Regions from separate parts of the Homo sapiens genome. Here all the other regions are linked to region 1. The links are contacts of gene promoters, found by promoter capture Hi-C in blood cells and fetal thymus (Javierre and others, 2016). All regions are on one chromosome and are shown on one strand. The core of a region is centred on a gene start or on the middle of the fragment in contact, and the rest is flanking DNA. Distances in the headings are between cores, read along the strand shown. Region 1 holds the start of SLC2A13 (solute carrier family 2 member 13). Region 2 overlaps REDIC1 (regulator of DNA class I crossover intermediates 1). Region 3 overlaps REDIC1 (regulator of DNA class I crossover intermediates 1). Region 4 overlaps MUC19 (mucin 19, oligomeric (gene/pseudogene)). Region 5 overlaps SLC2A13 (solute carrier family 2 member 13). Region 6 overlaps SLC2A13 (solute carrier family 2 member 13). Region 7 overlaps SLC2A13 (solute carrier family 2 member 13).

Region 1 (3,700 bases), core at 888-3,387:
AACAGCAAAAGGAAGGTCACTACTGACAAACTTTGAATATAAAGTGCAGTGAGCTGGGTTTTAGGCTCATGGTTCCCGCATGTGGAGTTGAATATATGGCCTTTGCTTCCCTTCAGAACCCACAGAGAAAGGGTGAAAAGCACAAACATCAAACAAGTGGTGAATACACAGATCAGCAGCAGCCCCAGGTTTAAAGCGCTTTCATCAAGCCCCAGCCATAGGGAAGAAATACTTCAACAGCACCCTAAGGGAAACAAAAAACTGAATTATGAAACGAAACATTAAAAAAGCATCAGCGGTGTGTCTTAGAAAAATTACTAGTGAGATTTAAGTCACAGCCCCCCACTTTCCCTCAAAAGTGCTTTCTAATAATACAGAGCACATTCCAAATAGCTTCCCTCTGCCAAAAACTTGCCAATTGTACCTCCCCTGCTCAGCAACCAGGGTGAAAAAAATTCAACGCCAGGAGAACCTTAATGCCTTCATTTTTGAAGTAAATTCCAAACATTTATCTTGCGGGGCATTTATCCACAGGGGGAGTAGCTCCTAAATGAATTAAGGAAGTGAATATGACCTTTAATAGATAATTTGGTTCCCAACTGGAAAGCAGGAGAGGAAAAACAAAGAGGAGAATGGATAAAAAAGGATTCAAATGAAAAAGTTGGAAAAACAGAGGAGAATGGAATTTACTTGGGAAAAGAATGAAAGCTGAAAGGCAATAGAAAAAGCATAAAAGCAAAAGGAGATGCCATCTAAAGACAAATGCTAGATAAGCAAAGAGGGCAGGGGTCGCTAATAAACCTTTCAGAGTCCAGAATTACTTAACTCTAAATATTATCTCACTGTAACTTGACGATGGTCTAGGTTCCAGGCTGGGAGCCCCAGAAAACGAAAGGGGCTAGCAGTGGAGAGGCAAGGTGGGACAGTGCAGGAAAGCAGAGACCCTCGTAAGCTCAAGAAGCAGCATCAGGTTAGGCTGGATCAAGGAAAGAGCTGGTGCTCAGCTAGGTTTCTGGAAGTGCTGAGAGGCAACAACCACTTGGACTGACTGGTCCGTGGCCTATCAAAGATTCCACGTGCGCTCGAGGGAGACTAGAGTGACACCCCCTCCCCCCCGACCCTCCCACCTCCCGGGAGAGCCTTGGAGGCTGGACCAACAAACAGATGGGCTCTGGAGGCCAGAGAAGTGGAGGATTCTCTGACCCTGGGAGACCAGACGGGGACCCCGATGGGCAAGAGGCACGCAACACCCAGGGTCAAGGGCGGTGACAATGGGATCCCGGGCGCCCTTCACGGAGCCCGAACTCACCGATGCCGAGTCCCACGACCAGGCGGCCGGCGAGCAGTGTCTCCTTGTTGTTGGCCGCAGCCAGCACCGCGGAGCCGGCGGTGAAGAGGGCACTGGCCAGGAGGATGGCAGCGCGGCGGCCGAAGACGCCGTTGAGGGCGCCTCCGGCCAGCGCCGAGACGGCAGCCGCCCCCACCGTGCTGGACACCAGCAGCTCCTGCCACAGCGCGTCCAGACTGAGCTGCCGCTTGAGCAGCAGCATGGCCCCTGACACCACCCCGGTGTCATAGCCAAACAGGAAGCCGCCCAGCGCGGAGAAGACGGCCACCACGTACACGAAGGCGGGGGTCTCGTCCTGCTGGAACTGCCGCCGCGCCGCGCGCTCCAGGTCCCCGACGCCGCCGCCGCCCGCGCCCGCGCTCTGCAGGCTGGTGCTCGATTCGGCGGCAGCCAGGAGGCTGCACTCCCCGGCCGCGCTCGCCGCGTCCGGCTCCGGCTGCTTCCTGCGCCGCTCGCCCATCAGGCTGCTCAGGCTCCGCAGCGTGTACTCCACATTCTCGCTTGCCTTGCGGGACATAGGGCAGGGGCCCGGGGCTGCCCGGGGGGACGCGGCTCCGCGGGCCGGCAGTCTCGGCGAGCTAGACAGCCCGAGCCGGCGGGAGCAACCGCCGCTGCCGCCGCTTTCTTCCTCCCGGCTTCCGCTCCGGCTGCCACGGCAGCAGCCGCCGCCACGGCCGCTCCGGGGAGAAAGTTGCTGCCCGCCGCGCTCCGACGCTGCGGAGTTGGAGCCCGGCGGGTCTCACTCCACACTCACGCCCCGCGCCTGCCGAGCTGGCGCTGCGGAGCGGGCGGGAGGCGGGACCGCGGGTCACGTGCAACCCCGGGCCGGCGGGGCGGGGCCCGGGAAACGTCCCGCCCCCTCCTTGGGCGGGGCCAGGCTCAGCCCGCCCCGGACCCCTAAACCCCGCCCTCCCGGTGGGTGCGACCTCTGACCTAGGCTCCCTCATTTAGGGCTCTGGCAACCGTATGGAATTAACCCTGCCTTCCGAGCTGCAGCGGTGGAGCAAGCCAATGTGGCGATGCCATCAGGCAACAGGCTTCCAGACGGGAAGCCACCCAGAATGTTTGCCGTGTTTGGAGAGGAGGGAGAGAGCACCTAAACCAGCCTCACTGTCCTTCCAGCAGCCTAGAGAGAGGGCTGGAAAAAATATCCTAGAATAGGACCTAGCAAGTACCCTTCCTTTTATAGTATTGTGACATTACCCAGCGTGGTCTACTTCCCTGGCATTAAATGTGTTTGTTCTGGAGCAATTCAGGGCTGCATGCTCCCATTTCTATAGCTAGTTTCCACTCTCATCGCCAGTCCCTCCTCAATTTATGCTTATTTTAAAGGAATGGTACATTTGATTCTTTGAGGACAGAGAACATATCTCTGTGGTGAATCCCAAACCCTCCTTCCATGGATCCCCGACCTGTAAAAGAAAATTCACATATATGCATTCCACTCATGTAACGGGTAATTCCCAGAAATAGAAAGAAAACTCAAGACCCTGATTTGTGATTCGGCAGGCAGTCTCCATTTCCCCGCCCCAACATGCTAACCAAAAGGTAGGATAGCTTCTCTCCTGAGAATCCCCACTGTTGCCCTCCATGAGGCACTGTTTTAACAGCCTCATTTACTTGAAACAAAGCAAAGATAACGTTATTTGCAACCAATTTTTTAAACTGTTGAGTGAATTAACAGTTGTTGGTTCATTTGGGGTTTGTTTCCCCCTTTAATTTAAATGTTTTTAAAATATACAGTTGCGCATCAGGGGCTAAAGATAGTTTGTTTTGTTTTGTTTTGTTTTTGAGACAGATTCTCGCTCTGTCGCCCAGGCTGGAGTGCAGTGGCGCTATCTCGGCACACTGCAGCCTCCGCCTCCCAGGTTCAAGCGATTCTCCTGCCTCAGCCTTCCTAGCAGCTGGGACTGCTAAAGATGTTTTGTGCCTCTAATTTGCTTTCATTCTTCAGGCTGAGGGCAAAAAGTCAAGCATCATATGATTCTATTCCTACAATTCCACTGCTCTTTTATTTCCCTTATTTGAGCAAAAGCTTTCTTAGCCTGGGGCCTATTTTTCATGCAGCTATAACTTTTTTCCTTTCAGACAAAAGGATTTTGTCATTCCTGTTTCAGTAAAAACTTATATTAGAATTTGTCAAAACTGCTTTCGTTTTGATTATCAGTCACGATTATCTCTACAATATAGTACTTTCCTTGCCAGCAACAAGGAAAAATAAACTAATGAAGCCAGACGGCTTAACTATTTAAATGTTATCGTCTGGCTTTAAAGCAAGGCTCTACCGTCATTCCCAGGCATCAGTTAAACAGAGAGAGCCTTTAGATCTGCAGCAATGAACTCTTTAATATT
Region 2 (3,700 bases), core at 820-3,319, 460 kb before region 1:
ACATTTACTTTTTTGTGTGTGATCATTGGCAAGTCTGTTATAGTTCTTACAAGATTTTTACAAACTTAAAAGTTATAATTAACAATATTCTGAAATGTTAATGTGAAAGAGCCTCAACTTCTTGAAAATAAATATGATATGTAACCTCTTCAAATTATGACCTCTTGCACTAAATATTTTGCCATCTTGGCTTTTTCTCATTTCTGACAATTTCGCATTTATATTTACATTCATAGCATTATATTATGAGTTATTTAATGGAAGAGAAGATGTTTTCACAACCTAGCACATAATAGTTGCTTGATAAATAAATATTAGTTAATTTTTATTTAAATGAATTAATGATGTAACCTGAAAGAAAAAGAATGGCAATAAGAAAGAATAATAACAGTTCAAACAGAAAGAAAATAAAAACTGGATAAAGTGATAATTATGTGCAAGTCTTGTTAAAAAAACAAACATCTGGGAATCATGGAGGGATAACAAATAAACGAAATTGGCTTTGGTTGCAGATTAATTTGCACATAGCTTTTTTTTTCTTCATTTCTGTTGACTTTTAATGGCACTCAGCTGTGCATATTTTTAAGGTTTTCTATGTCTGCAGAATAGCATACTTTGTAGAAAAACAAGAACAAGATTTTAGCCTGTCAGAATTGTTCTGTTACCAGATTTTTTTAACTTTCTATATAGAGATAATTTCTAATCTTTTGATTTCAGAGAATAGCTTTATAGCATTCTGTTTTAAAGGTTATGCTTAAGGAAGATGATAAAAGGCTGTGAAATTTAGTCTTTAGGCAAACTGCAAGTTATGATTAATTGTAATGTATTTATAAACATATAAAGATGTCACAAAATATAAAAGTATCAAGTCAATGACTTAATAACATGATTGCTTTTTTATTATTTATAATTCTGTCTAAAACCGCATATTTGCTGCATTGTTTTTAATTTTTAATTATTTTAGGAATATTTTGAAAAACACAGGTTAAAATCAAAAATGAAATCACTGGGAGTTTTATCTCCTGTCAAAAATTCTGCTGTCAGCTTAGACATTCTTAACCTATATATGGTAAATCAGATATCTTGCAAGAAGAAAATTCCTGGTAAGTCATTCCAATTGCATTCTGTTTTGAACTTGATGTGATCATAATAATGTTTAGTCTTCTAATTAGTTTGTAATTTTTGAGCTCAAAGCATGTGGAAAATTAATTTTAAAATTTGGTTGCTCTCTTAAATTAGATGCCTAGTTAATATCTGCTTAAAACGTTTTGTTGCTTAATCCAATTTTTATTTTTATTTTGTGTATGTGTTATATAAAATTAATTTATTAGGTGTCACTAAACTTATTATAGTACAGTTGTTACATTATTCTATACAGGCAGGTAGTTACCAAAGTTTAGCTAGAGAGCAGGGAATAAATGTTAATACATATCAACAAATTAACTATTCTTTACTATTTAAAGGGTATGTCTGAAAGGAAGATCTGCAAAGATTTTTGCTTCAATGACTAGTTTCCTATGTCATCACTTGAATTATTTATTACACTTTCCTGGGATGTTAATCATAGAAGTCTAATACTGCAAAATAAAGTCCATTTTGTCATATATTTTGATACTTCAAGTAAATAAAAAGCTTAATTAGAGTATATTTTTCCTCTTTTAGAGGAACTTGTGTCTGATATTTAATTTTTAAAACAACTGCTAAAAATGAGAGCATAAAAATAAGACAATTTATCAGGAAGGGATAGAAATTGATCAGAGTATTGTTAATATTTCCTCATTTCCTTTCTCCGTCATTTTTTTTCTCCCTCCACAGATAACAGTTTACACAAGTAAATTTAGTTATACTTTAGAAAGAATAAATACATTGTTCATGGATTTTGAGAATAAAACTTATTGTTGTAAATCTTTTTGATGTATTTACCTTTATTCCCAGTCGTAGGGGAATAAAAATATATTTCCTCATCCATTGCTAGGTTTATGGCTAAACCCTCAATAACAAAAGACAGATTAACAGGAGAAAAACATACAGATTTATTTAGTAAGTTTTATGTGACACAAGAGCCTTGATAAGAAATTTAAGATCTTAAGATTGGAAGAAATGGCTAAACTTGTGTATTTTTCTTGCCAGGTTTGATGAAAAAGTGGATGGTCCTCAAGAAGTATGATTGGATTTTTAAAAGAATGATCTAATAGTAATAAACTAAGGGGATCTTAGCAAGGCCTCTTTGTTCAGATTCTTCTTTGTGACCCTGCGTCTTCAGAGATAGGGATATTATTTTCTTCCAAGTATAACCAGAGCACTTCTCGAATGAGGGTTTTATGACCTGCTTCAGGGGAAAGCTGAGAGTAACCTTCCTGCTTCTGCTGTTTTCTTAAATAGCAAGATGACTTATTTTGGGATAATGGCCTGAACTCCTGCACTTTCTTTTCATTTATTTCTTCAGCATATTTTTATTGGGTACCCACTGTAAGTACTCTACTGGGTGCTGAGGATAAAACAGAAAGCAAGCTTTACTAATCAGGACTCATGGCTGCAAATGACAGAAATTCAAAACAGTTATCTTTTTACTCCTTTAACAGGAAGAGTGATGGTGCAGTGGGCCTCAGAGATGACTTGAAACAGGGACTTGAATACTATCAAGATTCTTTTTCACTTCAGTCATTAACTTTATTCTCTCAGACTGTCTTCATCATTGAGGCTCAAAACATGGCCTTAAGAAACTAATATTACTCACCTTCTCTAGTTTTGCCACCAAGGAAATACTGAGAGTTGTTTCTCTGGTCCCACATTTTAAAATTCCACTGTAAGAATATTTCCTTGTGCTACTGGTACCAATCTCACAGTGAAAAAATTTTGCTTATAACTAGCAGAATGGGATACGATTATTGGTTCACCTTTAGTCAGATGGCTACTGCCAAATCAATTATTTTATCCAGAGAGACAAGACTTTTATTTTGTTTTGTTTTTAAAGACAGGGTTTCACTGTGTTGCCCAAGCTGGTCTTGAACTCTTGGCCTCAAGCCATCCTCCAACTGCAGCCTCCTTAGTAACTGGGATTACAGGCATGAGCCACTATGCCTGGCTTGAGGCAGAGTTTTATAAGAAGATATAAAATCTACACTATAACTATGTATATAGTTTGGGTGGGTGTATCACAAAAATAGAGTAGGTGAAAGTACTGACCAGAGAAAGGGAAAATATATATAGTACTGTGGGAATATATAACATAGTAACTAATCTAGTCTGGAGATCATAGAAATCTTGGTGGAAGAAAAAGTAGAACTAAATTAATAGGGCAGCTATAATGAGGAATATATAAGATGATGAATATGTTTTAAAGTCTCTGATAGTTGTTTATATTGTAATGATTTATTTTAGCACTGATAGAATGTAAATGTTTTAGTAAAATTTCTTAGATATATGTTTATGTAATGAACATGATTTATTAAACAGTACTTTTACAATTTTTTATTCTTATTTTAAAATTATAATTATATATTTTTTATTATAGAAACTGTGAGAAAACCAACCCATGTGAACATGAATAGAGACATAAAAATGCCCCTAAGAAAGCATAATTTAGAACTTACAATGTCGCCTCACTGTGTACCTTCTAAACTCTGCCTTGATGATACAGAAACCAAGTAGGTTTTAGCTAGGATTTATATTATTAGGTGTTTAAACTGGTTATTAACAA
Region 3 (3,700 bases), core at 594-3,093, 430 kb before region 1:
TATTTATCTATAGGAAAACATAAATTGTTTAACAAGTTGGACTTACTTGTCTTAATTCTTTTCAGTTTTTTAGGATAATTGCTCTCTGTCATCTCTAGAAGTAAGAATCCTTTCCAACTTTAGTTCCCAAATCAGATGCCATCTGCCTTAATTTTTCTCAAGCAGAAGAATCTCTTCTTTCTTCTGTTTGCTGTTTTAGCATTTGACTGTAGGATAATACCTGTCACTTTGTAATTTTTTTCTTCCTCTTTTATACTGTAAATTTCTTGTTGGCAATAACTACTCTACATTTCTGTATTGTCCACATCTCTTAGAGAGTGATTCCACTGAGTCAGATGCTTAAAATACCTTTTAAAAATCATGATTTTGGAAAATGGCAGGTAAGAGACAGGACTAGTATGCAGCTCCCACTTGGACAGAACAGCAGGTAGAGACTCACATCATGAACTTTTACTCCAAAAAGCACTGCAGAAACATACCAGGAAAACCAAAAGAATTCAAAGACCCTTTGAAAGATGTGGCTTGCTCTGCAAACTCCATGAGACAGCCAAAAAATTCAGTTCCCAAAGTGTGAGGGGGGGATAGCCTGCTTCCAAACACACATCTCCACTGGGGAACCAGAAATCCAGATCATGGGAGAAGGATTTAACCATCCCTAGAGCTGAAATGGAAGTAGGGAGCTAAGCAAAATATAAAAGTGGAAGAAGCAGCTGGAAGAGCCCTGTAGACACTCCTGGTCCCCAGCTTGAGCCCAGGGAAGCCATCCCTGGCCTTCTCTCACAGGGGTCCTTGGGGAAGGTACCCAGTGGAATTGAGGAGGGGCCACAGGGTGAAAGAAGCTTCTGACTGAACTCTGTAATAATTTTGACTAAGCATGAATTTTCATGAGCAGAATCTTGGCGGTGGGGTGCGAATGGGAAATGCAGATATGAGTGCAGAAGCTGCAGCCAACAGTGTGGGTAGACAGGGAGGGGCAAGGCCTGGGAGCCCTGCTTGCTTTCTTAGTGGGGAGGCTCATAGCCTGGGGCAAGATCTCAGCACTGTGTGCCCATTGCCTGGATGTAAACTTGGCACTGTTGGTGGGCATGATGAGAGTGAGACAGGCTTTACTTGCTGTGTGGGAGCTGAGAGAAGCCTATCACCGGAGGCTTTCTCTCAGTGATGAACTGTATGATGCAGCAGAGGTAGCCATAATCCTCTGTGGAACATAACTTCATTGGCCTGAGAACCACCCCCATCCCCCACAGTGGCTGCAGCAAGCACTGCCCAAGGAGGGTCTGAGCACAGACCTTTCTAACTCTGCCCTTACCTGATTTTTTTTTTCCCACTTTGGTAGCCAAAGACAAAAGACATAAACTCTTGGGAACTCTATGGCCCCACCTATTGCTTGAGAAACCTGAAAATTTATCCTGGCCAATGTAGGGCAAACTTGCATACCCCTTCTACTACCACAGGTGGTGCTCTCTTGAAAGTGCCACCTCTGGGCTGGAGGCCAGCCAACTCAGTCCATTATAGCAACTCAGAACAAGCCTGCTCCAAAGAAGGAGAAAACAACAGCTAATTCTACCACGTGCAACATCCTGGCTATCCAGAGGTCCTGAGTCTGTTCATGTGACAACTTCACTGCTAGCATAAGCAGCATTTGAGAAAACCAGTGCATTAAAAACTACAACCAAGGACTCCCACAGAGTCCACATCACTCCCCTGCCACCTCCATTGGAGCAGGTGCTGGTATCCACAGCTGGGAGACCTGAAGATGGATCACCTCATCACATCACAGGACTCTTTGTAGACATTACCCAGCACCAACCTGGAGCCTGATAGCCTCACTGGGGGGCTAGACCCAATCACTGCAGTCTGGCTCATGTGCAGCCCCACCCATAGGGGAACAGGGAGAGCACCACATCAAAGGATCACCCTGTGGGACAAAAGAATCTGAACAGCAGCCCCTGTGTTCCAGATCCTTTCCACTGAGACAGTCCATCCAAATGAGAAGGAACCAGAAAAGTAATTCTGGTACTATGACAAAACAAGTTTCCGTAACACCCCCAAAAGACCACACTAGTTCTCCAGCAATGGATCCAAACCAAGAAGAAATCTCTGAATTGCCAGATAAAGAATTCAGAAGGTTGATTAATATACTACTCAAGGAGGTACTAGAAAAGGGAGAACACCAACTTAAGGAAATAAAAAAAAAAAACCAGATATGGATGAAAAGGTCTTCAGAGAAATAGATGTCATAAAGAAAAGACAATCAAAACTTCTGTAAGTGAAAGATGCACTTAGAGAAATACAAAATACACTGGAAAGTTTCAACAATAGAATCGAACAAGTAGAAGAAAGAACTTGAGTTTGAAGACAAGGCTTTTGAATTAACCCAATCCAGCAAAGACAAAGAAAAACTAATTAATAAAAAATAAATGAACAAAGCCTTCAAGAAATTTGGGATTATGTTAAACAACCAAACATAAGAATAATCAGTGTTCCTGAGTAAGAAGAGAAATCTAAAAGTTTGGAAAACTTATTTGAGGTAATAATCGAGGATAACTTCCCTAGTCTTACTAGAGATCTAGATATTCAAATACAAGAAGCTCAAAGAACACCCAGGAAATTCATCACAAAAAGATGATCACCTAGGTAAATAGTTATCAAGTTATCTAAAGTCAAGACAAAGGAAAGAATTTTAAGAACTGTGAGGCAAAAGCATCAGGTAACCTACAAAGGAAAACCTGTAAGATTAACAAGAGATTTCTCAGCAGAAACCCTACAAGCCAGAAGGAATTGGGATCCTATCTTTAGCCTCCTTAAACAAAATAATATAAGCCAAGGATTTTCTATCCATTGAAACTAAGCTTCATAATGTGAGATAAAGTATTTTTCAGACAAACATGCTGAGAGAATTCACCACTACCAAGCCAGCACTACAAGAAATGCTAAAAGGAGTTCTAAATTTTGAAATACACCAAAATAGAACCTCCTTAAAGCAGAAATCTCACAGGGCTTGTAAAACAATAACACAATGAAAAAAAAAAAAACACCAAGATATCCAGGCAACAACTAACATGATGAATAGAAAAGTACTTCACATGTCAATACTAACATTGAATATAAATGGCCTAAATGCTTCACTTTAGCATTTAGTGTCAGAATGAATAAAAATCCATCCACCAAGTATCCATTGTCTTCAAGAGACTTATGTAACACATAAGAATTCACATAAACTTAAGGGGAAGAGGTGGAAAAAGATATTCCATGCAAACAGAAACCAAAAGCGAGCAGGCGTAGCTATTCTTATATCATACAAAACAGACTTTAAAGCAAAAACAGTTAAAAAAGACAAAGAAGGACATTATATAATGATAAAAGGATTAGAACAACAGGAAAATATCACAATCCTAAATACATATGCACCTAACACAGGAGCTCCCAAATTTATAAAACAATTACCACTAGACCTAAGAAATGAGATAGATGGCAAATAATAGTGGGGGATTTCAGTACCCCACTGACAACATTAGAGAGGTCATCAAGACAGAAAGTCAACAAAGAAACAATAGGCTTAAACTGTACCCTAGAACAAATGCACTTAACAGATATTTACAGAATATTGTACCCCAAAACTGCAGAATATACATTCTTTTCATCAGCACATGGAACATTCTCCAAGATAGACCATATGATAGGCTGCAAAACAAGTCAC
Region 4 (3,700 bases), core at 801-3,300, 360 kb after region 1:
GGAACTTCTGAGTCTGTGAGTCTGGAGTGGGGCTAGGGTCATAGTTTGCAATCCTAACTACAAATTAGAATCAACTAGAGAAATGTTTGAAAATACATATTGAAGAATCCTTCACAGACTAATTGAATCTGTCCCTGGAAGAAGGGACCAGGCATTAAATATTTTTTAAAAGCCTCATGGGTCCCACATGCAACCTGGGTTGAGAACCGCTAGGTTCAAATATCTGAATATTGAACAAGTAAATAATAAACAAGCTTATTTACAAGGAATAAGTAAATAAGCACTCTGAGGGATGCCAACAATCATATACGATTCTTATGATCAATTTTTGGAAAGAATGAGCCATTTCTGGAAATGAAGAAGTGTAAACAAAAGGTATTTTGAAAGCAGAGAGTAGCACCCTATGTTCTGCTAAATCAAAGATCATGATACATATTTATTGTCTATTTTGAAAGGAACTACTGGACCCTCAGTGGGTGGAAAAACTGGAGCCACAAGCAGTGAAGCGACATCATCTGAAGGCATGTCAGGTGAGTAGAGGATGTCATTCCGAGGCTGTGGCTTTTGGTGAAAAGGACAATATTTCATCAGACCTCTGCAAATTTCACTAAGTATAAATGCCATCCAACAAAAGATAGAATGGTATATAACTTATTAACATTTTTCAAGAAAAGTTTTAATTTATGCTTTCTCTAAATATTTCCTTCAAAACTACTATGGCACTGGGTTGTCACAATAATGTATATGCACTCCCAATACTGTGTTTGTCAGGTGTAACAGGACAGTCTCTTGGATCTACTGCTGGATCTGACAGTGAAATCACAGCTAAAACATCTTTCACTGGTTCCAGTCCACCTGGGAAACTCACCAGGCCAAGCCCGGGCTCACCTGGTCACTTTAGTGGTGGTGAGTCAGAAACCTAGTTGGAACTTCAGATTCTTATAAGTTTAAGTGAATTTAGAAGGGATGTAATTTTACAACAAATGATCATGGATAGTTTAAGTAGACCACCTACCTCTTTAAAGAAACCCTGAAATTTGTTCAAAGAGTTACTTCATTGTAACCTTTTATGTAGACTAGGCTTGCCAGAGAAAATATAGGAAACCAGTTAATTTGAATTTCACACAAATCAGGAACAGTTCTTTTAGAATGAGTATGTCCCATGCAATAATCAAAACACAGTGTTTATTGTTTGTCTTGGATTCATATTTAACTGGGTGCCCTGTATTTTTATTTCATGATTTTGAAAACTCTGATGCAGACTGAGCACTGTTGCTCTTTTCAATTAGGAACAACTGAATGGGGAAATGTAGCCACCACTGGAGCTGCTGGTGAAAACACTTCTGGAGCATTGGGTATGGAAAGAGCATAATCAGAATAAATCTAGACAGTAGAAGTGTAATTTTTTTTAAATTACAAAATTAAAATTTTGTCGGAGACAAGTTTTCCTGGGGAATTTAATTATTATTATTTGTGTAATGTCAAAACTGCAGAAGATCAGAAATAAATCAAGAAATATTTGTTGTGTGTTCAGTATTATCCTGGGGGATACAGACAACATAAAAGAGGAGTTGAGTAAGGTATTTGTTCTCATAGAACTTCATTTCTGAGCAAAAGAAATTAATATTTATAATACACACAAAAGCAAAACCATGCAAGGCAAAAGATAATCAAAGTGGAGGAATTGTTCAATGACACGCATTGGAGTAAGACTTGAGAGGCAATTCTAGTAAAGTGACTGATTAATTTGATTAAAACAACAGAATTATTCTATTTTGAAAAGAATGTATTATAATCAGTGCACTACAAGCTGTGTCTGTATGCCTCAACTTGAACAAAAACTCAAAATACAAGGAAGCTGAGTGAAATTTTAAGAATCTATCCAACTGCAAGGGAATAAAAAGTAGTTATTCAGGTTTTGGGGAAGGAGGATTAAAAACAAAATGTTCTTCGAATCCAGAACCCCCTGCACAAAGGTAGTACAGAATAAAATATAGGTTTATTATTGAATAAGCATTAAAACAGAATATGATGCACATCAGAGGCAGTCTGTTAAGAGACTGCAAAGTCAGAGAGATATTTCACTCTTTTATATTATATAGCCAAGCAGGTATGACCTACTACACACATGTTCTCAATATAAATGATTATAGTCTTCAAGTAGAAGGACTTGAAAGCACCATTTATTACACATAGTTCACCCTAAATTCGTCTCTGGAAATGAAGCAAGTGAGTAAGCTGAATCTGTGAAGAACCTTCCTTAACCTAATTTCTTACATATTATATCTCTGTTGTAAATATCTGATGACCTGGTTAAATATTCAAACACACTAAAAATCCTTTTATCACAAGCAGAATGTAATTTAATTAGTCATAGTATCAACCTGATCCTTAATTTGCACTGACACTAGTAGAATCGAATAGGATTTAAGCTCAAGAAACCAATGGAAAAATTAAAAAAAAAAAAACCAGGAAAATAGTGGCTGCATAAATTAGAGTCTATAGATACCTCTTTCTTCAAATCATAAAGATCAAAACAGAGCCCACACCTACGGTGTGTAGAGGAGACAGAGAAGAGCCAGACTCCAAAAACTGGGAACGATGGCTCTGAGGCTCACCATAGGGCTGAAATATAGGTAAGGGCATCACAGAAAATAGAGAAGTATAGAGAGGTCCTAATAGTGGTAGAATACCATGATTCTAGTGGTTCAATCAACTAGAGTTGAGCCTCAAAAGGAAAGCCCCACAACTTGAGTGGAAAATGCTGAGAGAAAATCTGGGACCTGGCAGGTCAGAGAGCCCTCATGAATGGAGTTGGAAGAGTACTGGAGAATGCATGGAAGTCTTTGGACAGGGGAGCAACCCTTGGAGCCTGGGTGCCAAAGGAAAAAAATAGGTATGGAAAAATAAGGGTCTCAATAAAACAAGATAGTGATGAAAGCATCAGAAGACAGACAAGGAAAACGTGCCACTTATAAACGAAGCTCCCTCACTGTAAGAACGTAAGAGGGGAGCCCTTTATCTGAGAAATCTGGGAAGTATACTGAAGCCTCCCTGCTGCCCCCTGCGTAGAATCTCCCGCTATTACTGGCCCACAAAACAATAATAATAATAATAATAATAATAATAATAAAGAAATTCCAGTATCGATACACAGCTATTCCTTTATATACATTTTCAAAAACTTTGCATCAATAGCAAGCAAATTCTAAAGATCTAGTCATGAAGCAAAAGAATACAAAAACATAACATTAACGTAAAATAACTAAGGAAACAACCGCAGCTACAAAGATACATCAAAATTACAGATTAAAAATTAAGACTGGAAATAGATAAACAGCAGGAATGTTAAATTGGAATTGGTGAAAACCCAGGAGAAAATTGAAGAAAAAGAAAAATTATCTCAAAAGACCAAATAGCAAGGTGTTCCATTGAGAATAAATAAAACTGAAAATACAGCAAGGATATTAGAGGATAGAGCTGAGAAGAGGTAAACCCTACCCCTGAAATATTGCAGACACTTTCAGAAAAGGTATAATGGGCTAGAGAATGATATAGTTTTAGGAAACAAACAAAAGTATCCAAGATATATTATTGCCTTATCTGGAGAAGAAAAAGCAATGAAACAGAACTAATATTTAAAATTATAAATAAGGAAAAACATTCTGAATTTAGAAAAAAACCCCTAAATCTATGTAGT
Region 5 (3,700 bases), core at 333-2,832, 350 kb before region 1:
ATGCTACTAGTCTGAGGACCATGCTTGGAGAACTGCTGCTCTAACGTATGTTTTGTGAGTTTAGTATCTATTTGCTAAAAGTAAAGCATAACAAAATTTTCTTTTTTGTTAAAGACTAGACTGCATGCTGATGATCTGAAATTAGTTTTTGGAGGTGCAGTGGAAAAGTACACAAAACATTAAAGGTTAAAAGAAGTAGCCTCAATGTTTTATACTGCATTCAAAGCATCTATAGTAAGATGAGCTTAATTTCAATACAGCCAATTAGAGAGGGTTAATGTCACGGTTTTTGTTTGAATCAGGTTTCAAAAATTACTTTTTAAAACATTGAAAAGACTTTAAATGAGAGATTACTGATTTTCTAAACTTATTTTTATTTCTTGACTGTGAGATCACAGAAATTGTGTATTAAATCCTGTTAATCTGGAGAATATGGGAAGGTTGTTCTTTTCATCAACTGCCATTCAGGAGGACACATATGGAAAAGAGATGGAGAAAGGAAGAAGGACATCAGGCTAGTCAGCCAGATCAGCTCAAATCATTCTGGTCAGCTGAGCTGGGAGGACATATGTCAAAGAAGCCAATGTGCTCCTGTTCCTAGTAGTTGTTCTCAGGAAAGGATTTTATAAGCAAATTGCCTGTGCTTTGAACATTGTGACCTTAGTAGCATCAGGGATAGGATATGGATGATGAAAACAAAAGCTAACAGTTATCCAGTCCTTACTATATGCTACTGCTCTACTTGCTTTCCATGATTCATTGATAACCTTCACTACACACAAGTGAGGTAGACGGTAGTAGCATCTCATTTTATAGACAATGAAAGTGAGGCAATGAGTGGTTCAGTAATTTAGGTTACTAGGCAGTAAGTTGAAAAGCTGGGATTCAAATCTAAATGATTTGAATTCAGTCTGACCTCTTAGACAATGCATTATATTGCCTCACATTTGACAAGAGTCTCTAAATGAAGATTTTTCAGGATTTGTTCCTGTAATCCATATGCACTCTTTTACAATGCAAGGATTCCACAATTTCTTTCTGTTTTTAATCTATCTGCCTGGGTCTGAAAAGATGTTCCAAAGGAGGACATAGAGGGGAAGACTTTTGGTGTAGTCACTGCAAAGAAGAGTTTTCTATGACTTTCTAGTGTGATCTTGGGCAAGTGACAAAAATGTTTTGAACTTAAGTTTTAGTACCTGGAAAAGGATGACAATGTTTATTCCACAGGATTGGACAATTAAATGAGGATTTTTCTGCCCACTGATACTGACATGTTCTGCACTATTCAGGTGTCCGTTATTCAGGTGAGTGGACAATTTATGTGTAATTCGTGGGATTTTCAAGGGTCATTTGACTTGGATTTTTGCCTTACCTGCTGACGTTAAGAACCTTAGTTAGATGTAACTCAACTGTAAGCCTTTGAATGACAGTAGGTCTAGAGTCTTCAGAAGATCTCCTTGGGCTATTTCTAAGTCAGGCTCAGGAAGACACACAACTAATTATGGACACGTGTCTAGCAACTGCCAATATCAAACAAGTGTATATTTGCTAATTATAGCTATGATTGAGGCAGAATGGCAAGGGAGAGCAACGGAGTCCCAAAAAGAACTGTCAACTGGCCTTCCAGCACGATTGTTCATTTTCACTTACAGAACCACCACCAAAGATAATTTTTGACAACTCAACTTAATGGTTCATGTCAACATCTGGTTCTGACAATAACTATAATTATTACTTCAAGGGTTCCTAAGCACCACATTTCACAGTTTTATATTCAGTATTTAGAATAATTCTTTAGAACAATTTTTAGGTATTATAAAATATTTTTAAAAGATGATTTATCATATCCATAATCAAAAGAAATAAAATATCATTAAAATGAGTAGGACTGCATTAATATATAGAGGTAGATTGTCTTTCTAGATGCTTTAACTATCATCTAACCTACATCCAAGGAAGATAACTAGAAAAAATAAATAAGTGCAAGGGAAGTTAATGAGTAATGAATTATTTTAACTTTTATTTGATTATTTTCATTTACAGTTCTGGCACTGACACTTTTTTTAAAAAAAGATTTTAATTTTATGTAAAGATTGAACTTCAATAAAATAACTTAAAAAACATTTACATGTATATCACTAAATCTCCATAAAATATACAATACTTTTGATACAGCATAGGCTAGGATGACTTTGAAGGAAATGGTACATATTCATAATTTTTAAGAGATATCCCATATATCGCTTGTGGGAATAAATACTTATATTGAATTTGCCAAGACATCTGAAGTATTAAATACTATATAACATGCACTCAGAAATTAAAATATACAGTTTGAAATACATATATTTTAAAAGCATAAAACTGTGATTTGATTTAATCTAGGTATACATTAGAGCTTCTAAATAGAAATTTGAATATTTATTACAAATAAAAGATACTTTAACATCAAGTGATATATAGTCCAAAAGCTGCTAGGAGACAGTTTGGACGTGTAGAATATAAATTTCTACTTTGGCTAGAGTTGTCTCTTCTTTTTTAACCTTTAAATGAGATGGAATAATGTTGTTTGCTAAAACTTTAAAACTTTACAAAATGTTGGTTACTCATTAGCTGCATGATCCACTTCTTTTTCTCATTTATGCTGACATGACAAAATCAAACACATGAACTTAACTGTCTAAAATAAAAATGTGAATATTACTGCTAAATGAAGGCATTTAAAATTCCATAGACCAAATTACTCAAGTACAACAGACTATATATTTTGTACATATAAAGATTTACATAAATTATATTGTTTTAGCTCACTAGCAAATTATACGGATAAAATACTTTCATGAACTTCTGAACATCAACACTCTTATAAAACACCTCTTTGATGATTACTGGCACACAAAAATTTCCTTCTCTAAAGAGACAAGATACAAGAAAGAGTTGGTAGCAGTTAGCTATTTGGCATTTTTAAATGATTGCTATTTCTAGAAAAATAGCAGCAGTATTGCTCACCTAGAAGAGCTGAATGTACCGACAATTTATAGACTGCTACAACCTGAACCATTTCATCAAATTGGCTTTACATTATTGTACATGAGGCCAAGAAGATTGGTAAAAGTGACAGAAAACAGGATGTAAAAATTAATCCACAGAACAATTCTGAGCCTTCTTATTGGCAGCAGCTACATATGAGCTATAAATTTTAACCACAATTTAATACATTTTGCTATAAAGCACATATTATAAATTCTCTGCTCCTGGTCTGATATAATCATCTATTTCTTTTACTCATAGATACTGAAAAGGTCTTAATTTGGTAATTAAAAACTTGTCACAACAAGTGAATAAAAGTCAGTTGTTAGGTACTTAGTATAAGTTGACATTTTATAACTTGCAATATGGTAAAAAAAAATCTGATTATAACAAAACGTCTCATTAATTTTGTTGTTTTTAATAATTGTGCTGATGAAATAAAACCAAAATAACATTCCAACTCTCTCCACTGTATTACAGTATTTATGAACTGTATTAGTGTCACTAAATTCTGAGACTTTCTTAGATAAACATATGGATGGTATTTTCTAAAACATTCTTCCATTTCCACCAACTTCTGGATCTGTGAGTTATTCTAATATATTTTCAATATTATTTTGTTGTTAAAAAGCAAAAGGGTAAGTTGTCAGCTTATATTTTTCCTGATCAT
Region 6 (3,700 bases), core at 761-3,260, 330 kb before region 1:
ATTCCCTTGCTGGTTTTGGAGAAGCAAGTCGCCATGCTGTAGGATGCCTATGCTGGGAGATTTGTGGAAGGAACTGAGGGCAGCCTCTGTCCAACAGCAAGCAAGAAACTGAAGTCCTCAGCACAAAACCACAAATTACTGAATTCTGCTAACAAAAATGAATCCTTCTCCAGCTGAGCCTTAGAGGAAACCATAGCTCCAGTCTGTGCATTGATTGTAGGCTTGTGAGGCCCTAAGCAGAGGACACACCTAAGCTATGCCTGCATTCCTGACCCACAGGAAGTGCTATATTATTAATGTGTGTTGCAGTAGTAAATGAATACAGTTTCCTGATTTTCCTGCTCCTATCATTCCTTTCTTCAAACTCATATGCCACCAAGTTAAGCGCCCTGACCACCTCACTGCTCAAAAACCTCCATCCTCCTTATTCCAGCAGTCTACAAAATGGCCTGCAAAATGTGGCTGCAGCCTACCTTATCTTGTACTCCTGTACACAATCCTTTTATGCAACTAAACTAAATTACTTATTTTCTGAACCTACAGTCTAGACCCAGTATCTCCTACTCATGACGTTTCCTGTAACTGAAGGCAAACTCTTACTCTTGATATCTACTGTCAGTATCTACCATCAATTCCTACCTCATCACCCAAGGCCTGTGTGGATGCTACCCATTCACCTGTCCGAGATATTCTCTCCTCCTCTCAACTCCTTTTCACTTTCCTCATTTATGTCATTATCATATAGTGCTCTGTATGGTCATATATTAATATACTCCTTCTTCTACGGTACTGAGATTTCATCCCAGGGAGTACAGCATGGCACAAGGGTCAAGAGCACAGGGTCTAATGTCAGACTGCATGAGTTTGTATCTCAGTTCTCTCCCTTACCAGCTTTGTAACTTTGGCCAAGTTACTTAACCTCTCTGTGTCTCAATTTTCTTGTAAAATAAGAGTCCATATAGGGTTGTTACAAAGATTAAACAAGGTGATAACTGCTTGGCACATAGAAAGCAATTTATAAGGGCTTGCCAAAAGAATAATCACCGTGCTATTTTTTTTTTAAATCTCAACCTATTGTCCATCATAATACCCTATGTAGAGATAAATGTTCCTTGAATGATGAAGCTTTTACATTTGCATTTGTTTAATTGTGAGTAGAAAACAGCATTAGATGTCCCTTGACCAATAATCCCCAGCAATGAAATAGTCTTTTGAGTCATGAAGATTTAAGAAAATAGGAAAGGAAAGAAAAAAGAGAAGAAGAAAGAAAAAAGAAAGGCAGGCAGGTAGGCAGGCTCCTGTAAGGAGGAATACTTACAAATAATGAAATAACTAAGATTCACTGAACAATTTTCTATTTACTCTTTTCGTTATTATCACAGTTCCTAGGGTGATCTCCTGCTGTGGCAATGAAGTAGGATACTTTAGAGTGGACTCTGTGCTTGCCCTGATGAAGCTTTTTGCCATCTGGCTATGCACGTTTACATGTGCAAAAAAAAGGCCAAGTAGCTCCTCATCATCCTCATGCTGATTTTGGGAAGGCACTGCAGGCACTAACTTGGCAGAGTTACATACTCAGCAATACGTAGATAGCTAATGACTGAGAATGTGACATCACACCTGACCTTCAAAATATAAACACTAGAAATACCAACTAAAAAATAAAAATGCAGATTTCAAACATTATTGCAAAATATCCTCATGCTTTCCTGGCAACTGCTGGTAGAAGAACATAATGCTCCCGAAAAGGAACAAAAATACTTTGACATCAGTGTGTGGGCTGGGATTAGAAAAAGTCATGCTCTTGGATGTGGCACCTTTTCACCACATCCTAGAGCAAAACCTGAAAATGACTGCAATAATGGGAAGCTGCTCAGAGGGCACTGCAGTGGACAAAGCAGCAGAATTGCATGCAATCAGGTGAAATATGTCTCATTTTGGCTGAGTGAGAGAACTAATCCTTACCAGCAGAATGACTAGGCTAAAACCTGATATACAGACCAAATAAATAATCGGTTCCCTGTTCCAATCATGGAATACACAGAACTCCCTTTAGTAATAACATGTAGAAATTAACAGCTCCCTTTGAAGGTGGAACAATGCTCCCCTGCCCACTCAACACCCACCAAACCTAGTTCATACGTAGATCTATTTCTGCCTTTTAAAATGTTACCTCTCCATCATTTATCTTTAGAGTTTCAAACCTAAGAAATAACCAAAGGAACTTAAGCAGTGCAAATATACAACTGTTCTTGCTAGTTAGCCATAAGTAGTATATTCCTTGCTTCCTACACAGCACATGCTGTCTATATTGCCCCTTTATTCTCCATGATGAAATAATTTGACTGCTCCAGGCTTATATATGGGAGTAGAGGAAAAGAAATATGACCTGTGTATAAAAACCAAAACTTCCAACTTCATATATTGAGTCCTAATCACTGATAAATGTATGAAACTTAGTTCCCTTCCCAAAGAGTTTATAAAAGATCCAGAATTTTAGAAAAGGGGAGAGCTTACTACAGTTCGTGTGACACATCTACCATCGTTCTACTGGGCTTACTGCACAAGCTTGCTAATTCATTACTGAGGAGTGTCAGTGAAGCACGATTTTATTTCCAGTTCCTGACGCAGGACTGTGATTTTTCTGGACAAGGTCCCTAAGCTATCACCTCAAAACATAGATATCCCTCTAAAAGTTAACCCTAATAGTTCTTTGTTGATAGAAAGTTAACCCTAATAGTTCTTTATTGATAGAAATTTATGATATAATTACACCATTACAATTTGAGGGTAGTGGTGAAAACGTACCTAGGAAAGCACAGAGTATCTCTCCAGGATAGGACACCTTCACTCTTATCTGAGGAGAACTAAAGAAGCAAAATCCTAATTCCCAACCAGAGATTTAGGATGGTGTAAATTTACTCTAAGCAACCCAAGTTATAAGAAATTCTAACTTCCGGGCATCCCTTCAAAGCAACCATGAAAAGTTACTGTTACAAACTTGGCCCATTACTTCTCAGATACTTTTAATTATTGTTCAGTAGGCATATTTCCTATTTAATAATCTAAAATGAAATAAACTTATGTCAAGGGTGGCCACATAGCATTTAAACTCTAATAACATCTCTGTGATTTTGAATAATTTTAGAAAAGTATGGTTTCCTAGCTTGCAGTGTGGAGACCATGTTGAAAATCCTGCCCTTGAATGATTTCCCATTGTCCAGCCTTTTTTTTTTTTTTTTGGTTTTGTAATTTTCCTGCAGAAGATTGTCATTTACAGACAAGATGAAAAACCTATTCTTTTGTTAATTACTATTATTTTCTAATAAAAAAGTCTTTATTGAGACAATTAAATCATAGATATGGGTAAATTTCAAAAGCCTTAGAAATTTGGAGCAAAAAGCCACTTTTTTCCTGAATAAAATATTATTTATCTATAAATCATTGCATCTAAACTCCTTATCGGTATATTGACTACCTTATATACCCCAAGTATGCAAAATAGATGGATGGAGTATGGACAGATGCAAATTAAAACAATGATAACATTTAAAGGTGATGAGACTATAGCAATAGTGGTACAGTCTCTAATTCTGGTAACAATTTAAATTGATATAATTTCCTTTTGGAAAGAAATTTGGCAATTTGAACATTAGAATATTCATCCCCTCTGTCTCAGTCTGATATCTAAAGTGTATCC
Region 7 (3,700 bases), core at 577-3,076, 290 kb before region 1:
GATCATATGATTTTTCTCTTTTCTTCTCTTAATATAATGAATTACATCCATTGAATACAGATGTTAAATCAACCATGAATTCCTTTATATTGCTGGATTCAATTTGAGAATTTTTCTGTCTGTATACAAGGGAGATACTGCGATGTTCATCTATAGTTTTTCTTTCTTGCAGTTTCTGGATAGATTTGGTAATGAAGATAAAACCAACCTTATAAAATGAGTTGGGAAATTTCCCCCACTCTGCCCTTTTCTGAAAGAGTTTATATAGGATTGGCATTATTTCTTCTTTAAATATCTGGTTTAATTCACCAATGCAGTTTTCTTTGTGGGGAGATTTTTAATACAAATTTGATTTTTTAAATAGATGATTTAGTTTTCCTATTTCTTTTGGAAATATGTGTCACCAGGAATTTTCTCCATTTATTAGAAGTGCTCTCTTTTAATTATAATAATAGAAAGTTGGGTCTCCTTTTCTCCCTAAACGAGTCCAGCTATGACTTAATCTGCTTTTTATTGATCTCTTCAAGAAATTACCTTTTGATTTCATTTACTTCATCTATTGCTTTTACATTTTCTATTTTATTGTTTCCTACTACCATTATATCTTTCCTTCTAATTACTTTGGGTTTTACTTGCTCTTCATTTTTTAGCTTCATAATTGTAAGCTTAGGTAATTGATTTTAAACCTTTCAAAATTTTCTAATATACTTATTTTAAAGTATAAGTTTGCTGTTAAGTATTGCTTTAGCTGTCCCCTGACGTTCTTGATATGTTATAATTTCATTTTCATTGACTTCAAAACATTTTCTAATTACCTTGTGATGTCCTTTTTTACAGCATGGGTTATTTAGAAATGTATTGTTTAATATTCAAATATTTAGTAATTTTTGTGAAAATTTTTTTTACTGATTTCTAAGAAGCTCTATTATTAGAGGAATATACATTTAAGAATTGTATGTCTTGATGAATTGGCCACTTTATTATAAGCCATCCTTCTTAATCTCTGATAATATTCCTTAATCTGGAGTCTTTGTCAAATATTAACAAAAGCACTCTAGCTTTATATGATTAGTGTTAGTACAGTATGTCTGTTTCCATCCCCATTTTTCTAGACAGCAGACAGTTGCATTTGTTTTCATGTCTAATTGGACAACTCTGTCTTTTACTGGAGTTTCTGTCTTTTATTGGAGTTTCTAAACAATTTATTTTAACATAGTTTACCAATAGAGTTGGTTTAAATCTCTAATTTGTTTCTTTTATGGTTATCTCATAAAAGAAACAACTTTGTTACTTGTCTTAGTCTGTTTAAGCTGCTATAACAGAATACCACAGACTGGATGGCTCTTACACAAAGAAATTTATTTCTCAGGGTTTTGGAGGCTGGGAAGTCCAAGATCTAGGCACAAGAAGATTTGGTGTCTGGTGAGGGTCTGCTCCCTGGTTCATAGCCATCTTTCATCTGTGCCCTCACATGGTAGAATGGAAGAGGGAATCTATCTGGGGCCCCTTTATAAAGGCACTTATCCCATTTATGATGACTCCACCCTCATGACCTAATCACCTCCCAAAGGCCCCACCTCTAAATATCCTCACATTGGGACTAATTTCTTTTTTCTTTTCTTTTCTTTTCTTTTCTTTTCTTTTCTTTTCTTTTCTTTCTTTCTCTCTCTCTTTCTTCCTTCCTTCCTTCCTTCCTGCCTTCCTTCCTTTTCTTTCTTCTCTTTCTTTCTTTCTCCTTTCTTTCTCCCCTTCTCTCTTTTTGTGAGATAGATGCTTGCTCTGTTGCTCAGGCTGGAGTGCAGTGGTGCAATCTCAGCTCACTGCAACCTCCGCCTCTGAGATTCAAGCGATTCTCCTGCCTCAGCCTCCTGAGTAGCTAGGACTACAGGCGCCCACGGCTACGCCCGGCTGATTTGTATATTTTTAGTAGAGATGAGGTTTCACCATGTTGGCCATGCTGGTCTCGAATCCTGGCCTCAAGTGATCCACCTGCCTCAGCCTCCCAAACTGCTGGGATTACGGGCGTGAGTCATTGCACCTGGCGGTTTCTAATTTCAACATATGACTTTAGGGGGTGGGGGGACAAACATTTAGTTTGTAGTATTACCTTTTTTTTTTTTTTTTTGAGATAGAGTCTCACTCTGTCACCCAGGCTGGAGTGTAATGGTGTGATCTCCCTGCAACCTCTGCCTCCTGGGTTCAAGTGATTCTCCTGCCTCAGCCTCCCAAGTAGCAGGGATTACAGGCGCCTGACATCATGCCCAGCTAATTTTTTTTTTTTTTTTTTTTTTTTTTTTAGTAGAGATGGGGTTTCACCATGTTGGCCACGCTGGTCTCAAACTCCTGGCCTCAAGTGATCCACCTACCTCGGCCTCCCAATGTGCTGGGATTACAGGCGTGACCCACTGTGCCCAGCCTATAGTATTACTTTTGCCCTCCCTTTAAAACTTCTTTTATTGGATTAATTAGATATTTTTTGCATTCCATTTTATCTATTCTGTTTGTTTCTTAGCTATCTTAAAAATACTTTTGTCTTTGATCTAGGTCAGCATTTATTTTGACATACATCAAAATTTTATTTTATTACAAATATTTTCAAATATATTCAAAAGTAGAGAGTATAGTATAATTAACCGGATGTACCCATAACAAACTTTCAACAACTGTAAACACATGGCCAATGACATTTCATCTAAATTGTCACTTAATCCACCTCTCCTGGGTTACTCTGAAGCAAATTTCAGATACCATATTTCATCTGTTACTATTTCAGTATGTATCTCTGCAAGGACTTAAAAAATATATAACAATATGATTACTGCACCTGAAAAATTAACAATAATTTCTTAAGAACATCAAACAGCCAATCACTGTTCACACTTTCCTGGTTGTCTTTAAGTGACTTTTTTCAGTTCATTTGAATCAAGATTCAAATAAGGCCCATTCCTTGCCAACTGTCTGTTTTTATTGGAGTAGTGGGGGATGAAGAAGCTTCAGGGAGACTTGAAACACGGCTGCAGCCACTACCATCTACAATCTCAATGTGAGTTCCATTTGATTTAAAATTTAAAATAGCAATTAAAAAGATGTAATTGGGAATATTAACTGAACAGAACCCCTACACAGGCATTTTAAAATTGGAGTTTCCATTTTACGCTGAAGAATGTCATTCCTGGAAACTGTCTGAAGCCTACACAGTCACATCTTGGATAACTCCACATTTCGAAAGTTTCAATCTTGGACAATTTCCAGTATGAGTGATTTCGTATATTACTTCATCTATATTGTATTGCCAAATTCTGTAAAACTATAATCATATCTTTCAAGACGAGGAAAACTGCTCTGAATATTCTCTTCACTTTTGCCCATACTCTTTTCTTTCTTTGTGATAATTAAGAATTAAATTAATTTAAAATGTGAGGTCTGGGGATAATACTTCAAAACGTTAATCAACCATTCTGATGTAGATTGTACTGCTGGAGTTTTAATGTCATTGCTTTACCTCCCCAGGAAATGAGCTACAGATGTAGACAGCAAGTGTAATAGCTTAGGAGGAATAAGCTTATGAAAGACACTTAATGAATTATGTACTTATAATTTCCTCTTTGTACTGTTTTTAAAAACTAGCCTAAACTTTTTCCAAATAGAGAGTAAAGAGAAAACATCTATTCCTTTAAGAACAACACAAGAAGGCTTTAGC

What was found. The method cuts DNA at HindIII sites, captures the fragments that hold promoters and counts their contacts. A CHiCAGO score of 5 or more calls a contact.
Region 2: a fragment that was not itself captured here is called in contact with the fragment with the promoter of SLC2A13 in region 1 in 5 of 17 cell types (naive CD4 T cells, non-activated CD4 T cells, naive CD8 T cells and 2 more); the score reaches 9.6 in naive CD4 T cells.
Region 3: a fragment that was not itself captured here is called in contact with the fragment with the promoter of SLC2A13 in region 1 in 3 of 17 cell types (non-activated CD4 T cells, total CD8 T cells and naive CD4 T cells); the score reaches 8.3 in non-activated CD4 T cells.
Region 4: a contact is called between a fragment that was not itself captured here and the fragment with the promoter of SLC2A13 in region 1, in 1 of 17 cell types (neutrophils). The highest score is 5.3, in neutrophils.
Region 5: a fragment that was not itself captured here is called in contact with the fragment with the promoter of SLC2A13 in region 1 in 1 of 17 cell types (M2 macrophages); the score reaches 7.6 in M2 macrophages.
Region 6: a fragment that was not itself captured here is called in contact with the fragment with the promoter of SLC2A13 in region 1 in 10 of 17 cell types (M2 macrophages, M1 macrophages, erythroblasts and 7 more); the score reaches 9.0 in M2 macrophages.
Region 7: a fragment that was not itself captured here is called in contact with the fragment with the promoter of SLC2A13 in region 1 in 1 of 17 cell types (M2 macrophages); the score reaches 5.1 in M2 macrophages.

The regions. Positions count from the first base shown.
Region 1 is chr12:40,103,944-40,107,643 of GRCh38, forward strand. It overlaps SLC2A13 (solute carrier family 2 member 13), which reads right to left and starts at 2,138. Exons shown (of 10, transcript NM_052885.4): 1 at 1,310-2,138. The coding sequence starts at 1,865. RefSeq lists silencers at 1,572-1,661, 1,672-1,741, 1,762-2,021, 2,042-2,291, 3,673-3,700 and an enhancer at 3,292-3,461. The HindIII fragment of the contact is 3,714 bases long and covers 1-3,381 here.
Region 2 is chr12:39,642,815-39,646,514 of GRCh38, forward strand. It overlaps REDIC1 (regulator of DNA class I crossover intermediates 1), which reads left to right. Exons shown (of 13, transcript NM_001031748.4): 3 at 965-1,103; 4 at 3,515-3,647. Among named protein-coding and RNA genes, the nearest start is that of REDIC1, 18 kb to the left of the region's middle. The HindIII fragment of the contact is 879 bases long and covers 1,631-2,509 here.
Region 3 is chr12:39,674,006-39,677,705 of GRCh38, forward strand. All of the region lies in intron 7 of REDIC1 (regulator of DNA class I crossover intermediates 1), which reads left to right. Among named protein-coding and RNA genes, the nearest start is that of REDIC1, 50 kb to the left of the region's middle. RefSeq lists a silencer at 1,736-1,926. The HindIII fragment of the contact is 2,013 bases long and covers 838-2,850 here.
Region 4 is chr12:40,464,684-40,468,383 of GRCh38, forward strand. It overlaps MUC19 (mucin 19, oligomeric (gene/pseudogene)), which reads left to right. Exons shown (of 172, transcript NM_173600.2): 49 at 456-530; 50 at 772-906; 51 at 1,290-1,355. Among named protein-coding and RNA genes, the nearest start is that of MUC19, 73 kb to the left of the region's middle. The HindIII fragment of the contact is 3,597 bases long and covers 253-3,700 here.
Region 5 is chr12:39,753,029-39,756,728 of GRCh38, forward strand. SLC2A13 (solute carrier family 2 member 13) reads right to left here. Exons shown (of 10, transcript NM_052885.4): 10 at 1,997-3,700. It also overlaps a transcript of REDIC1 not described here. Among named protein-coding and RNA genes, the nearest start is that of REDIC1, 130 kb to the left of the region's middle. The HindIII fragment of the contact is 9,809 bases long and covers 1-3,700 here.
Region 6 is chr12:39,771,359-39,775,058 of GRCh38, forward strand. The region is part of intron 7 of SLC2A13 (solute carrier family 2 member 13); the gene reads right to left. It also overlaps a transcript of REDIC1 not described here. Among named protein-coding and RNA genes, the nearest start is that of REDIC1, 150 kb to the left of the region's middle. The HindIII fragment of the contact is 1,112 bases long and covers 1,455-2,566 here.
Region 7 is chr12:39,810,728-39,814,427 of GRCh38, forward strand. All of the region lies in intron 7 of SLC2A13 (solute carrier family 2 member 13), which reads right to left. It also overlaps a transcript of REDIC1 not described here. Among named protein-coding and RNA genes, the nearest start is that of REDIC1, 190 kb to the left of the region's middle. The HindIII fragment of the contact is 2,326 bases long and covers 664-2,989 here.